Regions from separate parts of the Homo sapiens genome. Here all the other regions are linked to region 1. Evidence: promoter capture Hi-C in 16 types of primary human blood cells and fetal thymus (Javierre and others, 2016). All regions are on one chromosome and are shown on one strand. Each heading gives the region's core, a stretch centred on a gene start or on the middle of the fragment in contact. The rest is flanking DNA. Distances are from core to core; before and after follow the strand shown. Region 1 has its middle 2.9 kb from the start of POP5. Region 2 holds the start of OASL (2'-5'-oligoadenylate synthetase like). Region 3 holds the start of RPLP0 (ribosomal protein lateral stalk subunit P0). Region 4 holds the start of SPPL3 (signal peptide peptidase like 3). Region 5 holds the start of PLA2G1B (phospholipase A2 group IB).

Region 1 (2,557 bases), core at 33-2,532:
AACCTAGGAGGCAGAGGTTGCGGTGAGCCAAGATGGAGCTACTGCCCTCAAGCCTGTGGGACAGAGTGAGATCCTGTCTCAGAAAAAAAAAAAAAAAAGGCCGGTCGCGGTGGCTCACGCCTGTAATCCTAGCACTTTGGGAGGCCAAGGTGGGTGGATCACGAGGTCAGGAGATGGAGAGCATCCTGGCTAACACGGTAAAACCCTGTCTCTACTAAAAATATAAAAAATTAGCCAGGCGAGGTGGCACGTGCCCGTAGTCCCAGCTACTGGGGAGGCTGAGCCAGAAGAATCGCTTGAACCCGGGAGGCAGAGGTTGCAGTGAGCTGAGATCGCGCCACTGCACTCCAGCCTAGGCGGCAGAGGGAGACTCCATCTCAAAAAAAAAAAAAAAAAAAAAAAAAGGAATCTGAGAAGTCCCAGGACGACTGTAATAATGCTAACAGTAATGACAACAGTGACCACCCCATTGATCCAGGGGATACCTGACTCGGCTAAGGGCACAGGCTGGGGTCAGACAGACGTGGATTGGGCTCTATTGTGCACCTGGGTGAGTTGTGATGTCGCACCTGGGTGAGCTCACCTCTCAGAGCCTCATCGGCTTCCTCACCTGGGGAGGATAATGGCTCTGCGGCCCGGCTGGGGAGAGAACCGAGGAGGGGTTGGGGTGTGAGCCCCCGCCGCTGCCCCTTCGCGGCCGGCATTCCGGCGGCGGGCACGGCCGGGGCACACCCCGTCGCCGTCCAGCGGATCTCCGGGCCCCGGGGAAGACGGCCGCTCCTCCTCCATGCCTCCGCGGGCGGATTCCCCCGCAGCCTCCCGCGCCGCGCAGCGGGGACCCGGGTGATTGCAAACAGCCGCCGGCCTCATTAGGAGACTTATAATTAGCGGCTGGCGCAGCCCGAGCCGGCGCGCGCTAATTACCGCGGGGAGCCCGCCCGCCCGGCCACCGCCGGCGTCTGCACCCTCCTGGGCCAGAAGGGGCCGGGCCTGGTCCAAGACTGGGAGGCCGCGGGCCGTGCCAATGTGCTTCCTCCCGGGGCTGTGCCTGTGGGGGAAAAGTAAATCATTTGTTCAGAACAGCGTTTACTTGCCGAGGGCGGTGGCACACGCCTGTAATCCCAACACTTTGGGAGGCCGAGGCGGGCGGATCACTTGAAGTCAGGAGTTTGAGACCAGCCTGTCCAACATGGTGAAATCTCTACTAAAAATACAAAATTAGCCGGGCGTCGTGGCAGGCGCCTTAATCCCAGCTACTCTGGAGGCTGAGGCAGGAGAATTGCTTGAACCCGGGAGGCAGAGGCTGCAGTGAGCCGACATGGCGTCACTGCACTCCAGCCTGGGCGACAGAGCAAAAAACTGTCTCAAAAAATTCCTGTTGTTTGGCTATATTTTCTTTTTTCTTTTCTTGTTTTTAAGACAGTCTTAAAAATCAGTCTCAAAAAACAAACAAAACAAAAAAAACAAAAACAAAAAAAGGGCTTACTATGCACTCGCTGTGCCAGGCATTTTGTCCACATGACCCCGCTTAAACTTCATATCCACCCACGAGGGAGGAACCATTGTTATCCCATTGCACAGATGAGGAAACTAAGATCTGAGACATGAATTAACCCTCCTGACAGCACCTGGCCGGGCCAGTAAATGACGGAGTAGCGAATCGAACCTCCATCTGTCGTCTCTCCATCTTATTACACTAAATGGACGAGTGAAATCCTGCACGGGAGAGCACCAACCGTGTTGACCAGAACAAGGAGTCAGCTGGCTTTGGGTTCGAATTCTGATCCTGCTCCTAACTGGATACGAGGCTTTGGTCTGAGCCCCAACTGCATCTATAAAATGGGCGAAGCATTGCTGTTGAAATGAAGGCTGGGAGGAGTGAAATTTCTATGAGGGGTGGAGCGCTCAGGAGTTGGGGGTGTCTTGCTCTCTCCGCGCACTGCGGACCTCTGGCGCCCCCTGTTGGCCAAAGGAGGATGTCGCAGACACTTTCTGGTGAAAAGTTGTTCTTGGGTGGGGAGTGCCGTCACTGTCACTGGTCCCTTGGCAGGGCCACGGCGTTCCCTCTTCCTATTCTTTTCTTCCCTACCTTCCCCCACATCCCTCCTTTAAGGTGGCCAAGAAGAGTGGGAGATGGGAAAATTCAGAACTCATTCCAGATCTTGCAAAAATAGGTTGTGAAAGCTGCCCCCATTACGGACCTCACAGGACCAGCCAAGGCCAAGACACTTCTACAAATAATCAGGGATGGGCATAAAGACTAAGCTACAAAGCCATGCATCAAAGTATTGGGTATAACAAGAAAATCTAGAAATAATGTAAACGTCTACCAAAGGGATACTGACCAACTTCACAATGGTACGTCCAAACAATGCAATACTGCACAGCTAAAAAACAGTATTGTCGCTGAAGAGCTGACATGAAAATATAGCCAAATGGCCAGGCGTGGTAGCTCACGCCTGTAATCCCAGCACTTTGGGAGGCCGAGGTGGGTGGATCACCTGAGGTCAGGAGTTCAAGACCAGCCTGGCCAACATGGGGAAACCCTGTCCCTACT
Region 2 (2,557 bases), core at 42-2,541, 450 kb before region 1:
CGGTGGCGGGCTCCTGTAATCCCAGCTCCTTGGGAGGCTGAGGCACAAGAATCGCCTGAACCTGGGAGGCAGAGGTTGCAGTGAGCCGAGATTGTGTCACTGAACTCCAGCCTGGGCGAGACAGTGAGACTCCATCTCAAAAATAAACAAATAAATAAAAATAAAATTAAAATGTGGAAGTTGCCAGAGTAAAAACATTTAAACGCTGGCTGAAATCACCAAGGGAGTAAGTCTAGAACAAGAAGAGAAAAGGACCCAGGACTAAGCCCTGGAGCACTTAATATTATTCAGAGTTTGGGAAGTTGCAGGTGTCCAGCTATGTTGCCCAGGCTGGTCTTGAACTCCTGGCCTCAAGTGATCCTCTCACCTTGGCCTCCCAAAGTGCTGGGACTACAAGCATGAGCCACCATGCCCAGCCCGGATCCCCAGTCTTTAAGATTCCTCTCAAGCAGGTGTCTGCTAACACCAAATGAAACTCATCTGCCGGCTTCATGTTTTCATGCTTTTTTCCTACTTAACTCATCGCACTGGACTTTTGCAGTCTCTTTTTTCTGTGTCTCCTCCACCGTTCTGGGAGTCCCCTTGGAACAGGAACCTCATCTTATTTTGTCTTCTTGGCTCAATGCATGAACTTCTTGGTTCAGTGCGTGAATCATAATACCTGTTAAACCCACTCTATGGGCCGGGCGCGGTGGCTCACGCTGTAATCCTAGCACTGTGGGAGGCCGAGGTGGGCGGATCATTTGAGGTCAGGAGTTTGAGACCAGCCTGACCAAAATGGTGAGACCCCCGTCTCTACTAAAAATACAAAAAAAAAATTAGCCGGGCGTGGTGGCACATGTCTGTAGTCCCAGCTACTAGGGAGGCTGAGGCAGGAGAATCGCTTGAACCCGTGAGGCAGAGGTTGTAGTGAGCTGAGATTGCACCACTGCACTCCAGCCTGGGCAACAGAGCAAGACCCGGCCAAAAAAAAAAAAAAACAAAAAAACAAAAAAACCCACTCTATGAATAGTGAGGGTCAAAGAGGTTAGAGTCTGGCACAGGTAGACTAGAATTCCCAGTCTGTTCTCTTGGGCTCCAGATTCTCACTCCACCACCTGAACACTAGTGAGTCCCTTCCGTTCCCAAGCCTCAATTTCCTTAGACAGATGTAAGCAGTTGAATTGACTAACAACTATCCAACCCCAACCTACTGGGCAAGTTGCCTCCTTTGGGGTCAAACACTATCCAACTTCAGTTTCCCAACGTCATAAAGGAGAACTCTAAAAGTTGAGAATCGAAACTGATGACAGATTGACTAGACGGCCAGCCTGTTAAGGTGGCCCCAGATATTCCAGCCTCAGCCCAGAGTCCTCCTGTGCCCCTACTGCAGCAAGGGTGTCTCCAAGAAGGGGGACCTGGAGTCAGCCCGTCACACCTGGTTTCCTCTCTGCTAGGGTCCCTCCTCCCACAGAGCACTGGAGGGCAGCTGAGGAGGAGCTACCTTAAAAAAGGAGGTGTGTGCCAGGGAGCTGGGTAGGAGCCTGGCTATATATCTGCCCAGCAGCGGTACTCTCGGGACAGAGATGGCACTGATGCAGGAACTGTATAGCACACCAGCCTCCAGGCTGGACTCCTTCGTGGCTCAGTGGCTGCAGCCCCACCGGGAGTGGAAGGAAGAGGTGCTAGACGCTGTGCGGACCGTGGAGGAGTTTCTGAGGCAGGAGCATTTCCAGGGGAAGCGTGGGCTGGACCAGGATGTGCGGGTGCTGAAGGTAGTCAAGGTAAGACTGGGCTCCTCCAGCCCCCACGCAAGACAAAACCCAGTATCAGAGTCCACGTCCCTGGGGATGCTGGGGACCCCTGTCCTCCTTATCCCTAGCCCATGCTGATGACATCTCAGAATACCCCATCCCACCTAGCTGTCTACACCCCACTGCACCACTGCCTTGAGTAGAATGAGTCTAGTAATAATAGCTCACATTTGGGGGCTCACTGGACTAACCTCTTAACATACACTATCTCTAATTCTTGCACTCTGTGAGATAGGTACTATTCTTTGCCCAGTTTACAGATTAGCAAATGGAGGCTCAGAACCAATACAATGCGAGGTCCTTGGTTGGATCCTAGTGTGAATGAACCATCTGTAAAATATAGTTTGGGGACAACTGGCCTAGATATCAGATAGTACATATATCTGATATGGGAAATCATTGTTGATTTTGTTAGGTGTAACAGTAGTTTTGTGGTTATCAGAAGGTTGTCTTTTGTTTGGACACGAACACTGAAGTATTTTAGGGACAAAGTTCCTTGGTGCCTATAATTTACTTTAACGTGGCTTAGATTAAGCACATGTAGCCAGGAATTTAGACTTGTTGAATCAACTAGTTGGGTATATGAGTGTTAGTTGTATCATCTATTTTTCTATGTGTTTTAACTTTTTGATAATAAAATGACTTTTTTTTTTTTTAGAGACAGGGTCTCGCTCTGTCACCCAGGCTGGAGTGCAGTGGCACAATCACCACTCACTGTAGCCTCAATCTCCCTGAGCTCAGGTGATCCTCAGCCTCCTAAATAG
Region 3 (2,557 bases), core at 36-2,535, 380 kb after region 1:
TAGTTTTCTAGGAAGAGGGAATGGCTAATGCAAAAGCCCCCAAGTAAAGCCTGCTCTGGAAAAGCAGCAGAGCATCATCTGGGTAGAAAGCAAGTAAGTGAGGAGGAAAACATCTGAGATGATCAGAGTGGGCGTGAGGGACAGATAGGTAAGGGCCTTGTAGGTACTTTAGGTTTTAGATTTTTACTCTGTAGGAAACGGAAAGTTTTAAGCAGATAAGGAGATGAGCTGACTTAGGTTTTTTTTTTTTTTTTTTTTTTTTTGAGATGGAGTCCCTCTCTGTCACCCAGGCTAGAGTGCAATGGTGTGATCTTAGCTCACTGCAGAGCTCACAGCTCCCGGGTTCAAGCGATTCTTCTGCCTCGGCCTCCTGAGTAGCTGGGATTACGGGCATGCGCCACCCCACCTGGCTAATTTTTGTATTTTTAGTAGAGACGGGGTTTTGCCATGTTGGCCAGGCTAGTCTCGAACTCCTGACCTCAGGTGATCCACCCGCCTCGTCCTCCCGAAGTGCTGGGAGTATAGGCGTGAGCCACCGCGCCCGGCCAGGTTTTAAAGGATCCCTCTGTTTTGGTAGGCGGAAAAACTAGAGAAGACGAGAGACCATTCTGAGGCCGGGCGCGGCGGGTCACGCCTGTAATCCCAGCACTTTGGGAGGCCGAGGCGGGCAGATCACGAGGTCAGGAGATCGAGACCATCCTGGAGAACATGATGAAACCCCGTCTCTACTAAAAATACAAAAAAAAAATTAGCCGAGCACGGTGGCGGGCGCCTGTAGTCCCAGCTACTCCGGAGGCTGAGGCAGGAGAATGGCGTGAACCCGGGAGGCGGAGCTTGCAGTCAGCCGAGATGGCGCCACTGCGCTCCAGCCTGGGCGACAGAGCGACACTCCGTCTCAAAAAAAAAAAAAAAAAGAGAAACCATTCTGTTTCTAAGCATGTGCAATTATGTCTCAGCTCCACGTCATACCTTTTAGTTTGCTGAGCTCGCCAGGTGGCACAGGGAACCGGGACTCCGAATTCGCAGCTCCAGCTCCAGCTCCAGCCCAGCAGGTGGCAGCAGCTCAGAGCAAGCTCCTCCAACGCGAGGCAGCGCCTTCCTTCGCGACCCTACTTAAAGGCGGCTTTCCGTTGGCTGGAGTGGCAGCGATATTATCCAATGGTTGCCTGTATTCGTTCAGCTTTGTCTGACGGGCGATGGCGCAGCCAATAGACAGGAGCGCTATCCGCGGTTTCTGATTGGCTACTTTGTTCGCATTATAAAAGGCACGCGCGGGCGCGAGGCCCTTCTCTCGCCAGGCGTCCTCGTGGAAGGTTCGTGTGCTAGTTAGATGGGCGCCAGGGGTCGCCGGCGGGAAGCATGGAGGGGTCTTTGGGGGCCTTTGGGAACATGGAGTCCTATTCTGTTCCGCCTGGGGCCTCGGTGGCGGCTTGCACGCCCCGAGATGACGGCCGCTGCCCTAGGCAGGGCCGGCGGGCGATTGCGCGTGTCCTGCTCCTCTTAGGCCCGGGACCGCGGGATGGGTGTCGGCGTGACCAGGCCTGAGCTCCCTGTCTCTCCTCAGTGACATCGTCTTTAAACCCTGCGTGGCAATCCCTGACGCACCGCCGTGATGCCCAGGGAAGACAGGGCGACCTGGAAGTCCAACTACTTCCTTAAGATCATCGTAAGTGCAGGGTGGGTCGCCTCTGCTCTTCATGTTGCCCCAGCGCAAATAGGGACAGTCAGCTGCTATGTGCTGAGGGTCTACTCACACCGGCTACTGAATTAGGCCATTTTTGGGAAAATACTGTTTAGTTAACAATTTCCTGAGATAGGTCCCTTCTGTTGCAGATAAACGGGCTCAGGCAAGTTAAGTGGGTCCTAAGATGACAGCATTCGTATCCAGGTCTGTCTGGCTTCTAAAAGAGCGCGCTTTATACTTTTTTTTTTTTAAACGGAGTCTCGCTCTGTTGTCCAGGCTGGAGTGCAGTGGCTTGATCTTGGCTTACTGCAACCTCCGCTTCCCAGGTTCAAGCGATTCTCCTGCTTCAGCCTCCCGAGTAGCTGGGATTACAGGGGCGCGACACCACACCCAGCTAATTTTTGTATTTTCAATAGAGACAGGGATTCACCATGTTGGCCAGGATGGTCTCGATCTCTTGACTTCATGATCCACCTTCCTCGGCCTCCCTAAGTGCTAGGATTACAGGTGTGAGCCACCGCGCCCGGCCGCACATTACAGTTTTACTCCATTTTTGAGAAGGTCTGAGGTCAGGAATGACTCATTGTAAGGAAGCAAGCTGTTGCATATTTAGGACCTGTCAGCCAAGAAACTTAAGTGTCCAATGACTTTTGGATGGCCTTTGAGGTGGGTCTCCCTTGCCCAGAAATGCTGACTGTACTGCGCTTAAGCAATTAGGCAGCATTGTAGAGCATAGCTTGTATTACATTTTCCCACACTTAGAAGGTTTTCAGACACAAAACCCAAAGGAATTGTGTAACAATCCGGATAAACACGCCTAGATTGTTTTTACAAATAATAATGTTGCTATATTTGCTTAACGTGGTGCTTTTA
Region 4 (2,557 bases), core at 18-2,517, 320 kb before region 1:
ATCTCGGCTCACTGCAAGCTCTGCCTCCGGGGTTCACGCCATTCTCCTGCCTCAACCTCCTGAGTAGCTGGGATTACAGGCGTCCACCACCACGCCCGGCTAATTTTTTGTATTTTTAGTAGAGACAGGGTTTCACCGTGTTAACCAGGATGGTCCCGATCTCCTGACCTCATGATCCACCCACCTCGGCCTCCCAAAGTGCTGGGACTACAGGCGTGAGCCACCGCGCCCGGCCAAAAGAATGACTTTTCTTTGATAAGCCTCTCACCCTTTCAGACGGCCTCATCCACTCCTGGGGAAGCATTCCGCAGTACCTGGGGCCTCAATTAATCTCTCTCTTCTCTCTCCATCTAAGCTCCAGATTCACTTTGTTGGTCTCTGGTCTAGCTCTACCGTGTTTATTTCTGTGCCGGTTTCCAGACCTCCAAATGGACGGTTTCCTGAGCCTTCTGCCCTTGCTGTTCCCTCTGCCAGGAACTCTTTTCCTGTGGATCTTTGCAAGGCCAGCTCTCTGTCATCATTCAATATCAGCTCAAATGTCACCTCCTAAGCGAGGCCTTCCTTGACCACCCTATCTAAAGTAACCCACACCTCTGCTCACTCTCTGTCCCCTCACCTTGTGTTACAAAATGTGTTTTTGTAAAACTTAGCAGCATCTGAAATTATCTTATTTGTGGGCTTGGACTATGTCTCTTCCTTTAGAATGTAAGCTCTAGGAAGGCAGAGTGAGTTGACACATGGTTGGCACCCAACAAATATCTGTTGATTGATTCTGTGAAGGCAAGCGTGGGGTATTCGACTTGGTGCCGGGCCTGGGCGCAATAAAGGTTGGCTGCCTGGAATATTTGCTACCTGAATGAATGAACCAAGGAACATACGAACGAAGGAATGCAGCCCTCTGCCTGTTGACTGACAGGTTGACTGACAGTTGGGGGGCCCGTGGCCAGCAGACTGTTGACTGACGGTTGACAGCTGAGTGGCAGCCAACAGACGCGCATCGGGGTTCCCGATTGGCTGGTGCAGCAGCCCCTCGGAGAGGGGCGGAAGAGGGTACCCGAGGCGACATCTCCGCGTGGGGAGGGGGGCGGCACCAGGCAGCGGGAGGCGGCCCAACTGCTCTGGCTGTGCGAGCAGCAGCCGCCTAGAACCCAGGAGCCGACGTCTCTGCGCATGGGCCCGGCTCGAGGGGCGGGGCGCGCATCACGTGAGCGTGTTTTGGGCACGTGACCCGCGCGGGGCCAAGGCTCGCCCCCGCCCCCGCCCCTCCTCCCCTCGGCGGGTGTGATCGAGTGGCCTCGCCTCATCGCCTAGCGCCCCCCTCAGTCGCCGCCGCCTCCGCCCGCCGGCCATGTCCCCCGGCCGCCGCCGCCGCCGCCCGAGCGCGGCGCTCCCGCGGCCCCGCGCGCAGTGAGCGCGGGCCCGTCTTGCCGTTCGCCCGCCCCAGGGCCCCCTTGTTCTCCGCGCCGCCGCCGCCGCCATGTTGGGTTTGGAGCTGCAGCGGAGCCGCCGCCGCCGCCGCGGGTGAGGGAGGCCGAGAGCGGAGCCCGCCCCGCCCCGGGGCCCAGGGAGCGGGGCCGCTTCGGAGCCCGGCCTCTCCCCGCCAGCCGCCTTCCCGGCCCGCCGTGCAGCCAGCGAGCCAGCGAGCGAGCAAGCAAGCAAGCACCGGACCCCGGCCGCGCCTTCAGCTACGGCCCGAGCGAGCCCGCCGCCGCCGGGCCCGGCCACAGCCTGCAGCGGAGCCCACGAGAGGCAGCGCCATGGCGGAGCAGACCTACTCGTGGTGAGTGCGGGGCTCCGGGAGGCCGGGAGGCGGCAAGGGTGGGGGTCGGGGCGCCGGCGCGGCCCGCCGAGGGGAAGAGGAGGAAGAACAGGTGCGTGTCGTGGGGGGGGGGCGCGGGTTGGGGTGCACGCCCCCCTCTTCCCCACCGGAGGGGGCGGCTGGCGCGCACGGAGGGCGGTGAGTGGCCGGGGACCTGGCGTCCGAGAAGGGGAATGGAGGAGGAGGCAGCGGCGGATGTCATCTGGCTATGGGCGGAGCAGGTGATGGAGAAGGGGAGCATGACCCCGGGGGTGGGAATCCCACGGATGGGAAGTTGAATCCGACAGGCACCCCGGAACTGACTCGTGGGGGTGTTTCCTGGGCAGGAGGACTCGAAGGGGTGGAGAGAGGCAGGCCAGGGCAAAGGTGGGCCGCTGGGCTGAGAGGAAGCTCTAGTGAGAACAGGTGATAGAGGCAGAACTTCTAAGTTGGGAGAGTGGAGCGGCCGCCGCTTGGCTCTGGGACAGGGAGCGCAGGGAGAGTTGGTGAGGTGGGCAGAGGCCCGGGAGTGAGGGGAGGAAAACTGCGGGGGTAGAGTCCACGAACCTTGGAGGGGAGTCACTGGTGAAGAGGTTGGAAGAGGAGCCTGAAGAACCTGTTTCCTTTTCCTTCTGGAAAAGGAATTCGTTGGTGACAGTGGGGCATGGGCAGAGTCTTTGTAAGGGTTGGTACTATTATTTTCAGAGGAATGGCGCCCAGGGCCAAGTGTGGAGGTGGAGGACCTGCAAGTTAAGTTCA
Region 5 (2,557 bases), core at 32-2,531, 260 kb after region 1:
AGCTTGCAGTGAGCCAAGATCGCGCCATTGCACTCCAGCCTAGGCAACAGAGCAAGACTCCGTCTCAAAAAATATATATAAATAAATAGATATGTGATGTGACAGGTTTTTTTTTGAGATGGAGTTTTGCTCTTGTTCCCTAGGCTGGAGTGCAATGGCGTGATCTCAGCTCACCGCAACCTCCGCCTCCAGGGTTCAAGCCATTCTCCTGCCTCGGCCTCCGGAGTAGCTGGGATTACAGGCATAAGCCACCATGCCTGGCTAATTTTGTGTTTTTAGTAGAGACAGGGTTATTCCATGTTGGTCAGGCTGGTCTCGAACTCTCCACCTCAGGTGATCTGCCAGCCTCAGCCTCCCAAAGTGCTGGGATTACAGGCATGAGCCACCGTGCCTGGCCTCTGATATGACAGTTCTAATGCCCTTTAGTATTCTATAATTCAGACTCAGGCCTTTGGAATCCAAAGCCCAGGTTTTTCTCACAAACCCACACTGCAGAGCGGAGTGGTGGAAAAAAATAAAACCTCTGCCTTGGAATCAGACAGATCTAAACTGGAGCCCTATTTTGTCATTTGCCAACTGTGTGACCTTGGGCAAGTTACCGCAACTCTCTGAACCTGTCTCTTTATCTGCAAGGTGCACGACTGATGGGACTATTCAACCAGACCCAGTGCACAGATTCAGGCACTTGATAAGACATTGAGGCTGCAGGCAGCGATCTTTTTTCTTTCTTTCTTTTTTTTTTTTTTTTTTTGAAATAGGGTCTCACTCTGCTGCAGAGGCTCAATCACTGTTCATTGCAGCCTTGACCTCCCTGGCTCAAGAGATCCTCCCATCTCAGCCTCCTGAGTTGCTGGGATCACAGGTGCAATCCACCACCACACCTGGTTAACATTTTTTTTTTTAGAGATGAGGTCTCTCTATGTTGCCCAGGCTGCACTTCCTTCTTGTCTCCCTTATCCCAGCGTCCGACTGAACTGACGGCTTTGCTTTCCCCAACCAGCCCGTGAAGCTGGGCTGAGTACAAAGTGGTGGGTATGAGGGTCAAGATTGTAAGATCTGAAAACTCCAGAAACCATCCCTTTGGTTAACAGTTGCTAAGGACAAATGCATAACATATTTTCCAGTGATCCCATGCTGGCAAATCGTCAGGGTCATTCCTGCAACAGACAGATTCAAGGCCAGCCCCAAACTCAGCCAAGAGCAAAGCAAACACTCCAGCCTTATCTGGGCAGGGTTGTGTGGAGACTGACTATAAGACTATACCTGAGACTGGTCATCTCAGTTCTTTTCTCACCTTGACTGCAAGATGAAACTCCTTGTGCTAGCTGTGCTGCTCACAGGTAGGCAAGTCTCCCCGGCTCCACCCGCCTTTCTCTCCCAAGTGAGCTAAGATCTCACTCCTCTGGAATGGGGGCCACAGGCCACAGCAAACAGGGATGGCCAGCCCCGCAGTCTCAATTCGAGGTTCCCAGTGGGGCTTAAGGGCTCCTCTATTGGGGTTCCCTCAAGGCTGGCACTTTTTCAACCTGCAAGTCTGAACTCAGATTGCCTGAGCTAAGAAAGCTTGCCTTTATTTTCTTTTTTCCAGACAGGGTCTTGCTCTATCACCCAGGCTGGAGTTCAGTGGCATGATCATAGCTCACCACAGCTTCCAACTCGTGGGCTCAAGTGATCCTCCCACCTTACTCAACTAAGTAGTTAGGCCAATCTCCCATTTATTTTATTTTATTTTAATTTTTATTTTTATTTTACTTTATTTTATTTTTGAGACGGGGCTCACTCTGTCGCCCAGGCTGGAGTGCGGTGGCGTGATCTCAGATCACTACAACCTCCATCTCCTGGGTTCAAATAATTCTCTTGCCTCAGCCTCTCAAGTAGCTGGGACTTGTAGCTCTCAAGTAGCTGGCACACACCACCATGCCCAGCTAATTTTTTGTGTGTTTTTTTTGGTAGAGACAGGTTTTCACCATGTTGGCCAGGCTGGGTGACCTCCCTTTTAGATTCTCCTCATCCTGCTCTATTCTTCCCCTTTCTAATGCAGTATCCAGTTTCCTTACTTATCACATTTATTATTATTCTTATTATTATTGAGACAGAGTCTTGCTTTGTCGCCAAGGCTGGAGTACAGTGGTGCGATCTCGGCTCACTGCAAGCTCCACCTGCTGGGTTCACGCCATTCTCCCGCCTCAGCCTCCCCAGTAGCTGGGACTAAAGGCGCCTGCCACCACGCCCCGCTAATTTTTTTGTATTTTTAATAAAGACGGGGTTTCATCGTGTTAGCCAGGATGGTCTCGATCTCATGACCTTGTGATCCGCCTGCCTCGGCCTCCCAAAGTGCTGGGATTACAGGCATGAGCCACCGTGCCCGGCCTTATCACATTTATTATTTATTGTTTTTCTCTCCCACTAGGTTGTAAGCTCCATGAGGTTAGAGATTATTATTATTATTATTATTATTATTATTATTATTATTATTATTATATCTGTTCACTGCTGTATCTCTAGCTCCTAGGACAGAGCCTGGCACATAGTAAGTGCTCAATAAATATTCACTGGA

Evidence for each region. The method cuts DNA at HindIII sites, captures the fragments that hold promoters and counts their contacts. A CHiCAGO score of 5 or more calls a contact.
Region 2: a contact is called between the fragment with the promoter of OASL here and a fragment that was not itself captured in region 1, in 6 of 17 cell types (endothelial precursors, M1 macrophages, erythroblasts and 3 more). The highest score is 7.8, in endothelial precursors.
Region 3: the fragment with the promoter of RPLP0 here is called in contact with a fragment that was not itself captured in region 1 in 1 of 17 cell types (total CD8 T cells); the score reaches 5.5 in total CD8 T cells.
Region 4: the fragment with the promoter of SPPL3 here is called in contact with a fragment that was not itself captured in region 1 in 8 of 17 cell types (M2 macrophages, erythroblasts, megakaryocytes and 5 more); the score reaches 8.7 in M2 macrophages.
Region 5: the fragment with the promoter of PLA2G1B here is called in contact with a fragment that was not itself captured in region 1 in 4 of 17 cell types (M0 macrophages, M2 macrophages, erythroblasts and 1 more); the score reaches 6.5 in M0 macrophages.

The regions. Positions count from the first base shown.
Region 1 is chr12:120,582,976-120,585,532 of GRCh38, reverse strand. No RefSeq gene overlaps it. Among named protein-coding and RNA genes, the nearest start is that of POP5, 2.9 kb to the right of the region's middle. RefSeq lists silencers at 599-668, 699-1,068. The HindIII fragment of the contact is 5,644 bases long and covers 1-2,557 here.
Region 2 is chr12:121,037,980-121,040,536 of GRCh38, reverse strand. OASL (2'-5'-oligoadenylate synthetase like) reads left to right here and starts at 1,291. Exons shown (of 6, transcript NM_003733.4): 1 at 1,291-1,763. The coding sequence starts at 1,566. RefSeq lists enhancers at 1,127-1,546, 1,126-1,625, 1,626-2,127. The HindIII fragment of the contact is 5,031 bases long and covers 1-2,557 here.
Region 3 is chr12:120,199,839-120,202,395 of GRCh38, reverse strand. RPLP0 (ribosomal protein lateral stalk subunit P0) reads left to right here and starts at 1,285. Exons shown (of 8, transcript NM_001002.4): 1 at 1,285-1,313; 2 at 1,565-1,666. The coding sequence starts at 1,613. It overlaps PXN-AS1 (PXN antisense RNA 1), which reads right to left and starts at 1,105. Exons shown (of 4, transcript NR_038924.1): 1 at 970-1,105. RefSeq lists enhancers at 770-1,129, 1,530-1,599. The HindIII fragment of the contact is 6,201 bases long and covers 1-2,557 here.
Region 4 is chr12:120,903,068-120,905,624 of GRCh38, reverse strand. It overlaps SPPL3 (signal peptide peptidase like 3), which reads left to right and starts at 1,267. Exons shown (of 11, transcript NM_139015.5): 1 at 1,267-1,780. The coding sequence starts at 1,758. XLOC_009911 (a long non-coding RNA gene) reads right to left here and starts at 930. Exons shown (of 2, transcript NR_131215.1): 1 at 853-930. RefSeq lists silencers at 1,068-1,427, 1,508-1,727, 1,868-1,917. The HindIII fragment of the contact is 11,636 bases long and covers 1-2,557 here.
Region 5 is chr12:120,326,503-120,329,059 of GRCh38, reverse strand. It overlaps PLA2G1B (phospholipase A2 group IB), which reads left to right and starts at 1,281. Exons shown (of 4, transcript NM_000928.3): 1 at 1,281-1,340. The coding sequence starts at 1,307. The HindIII fragment of the contact is 6,320 bases long and covers 1-1,565 here.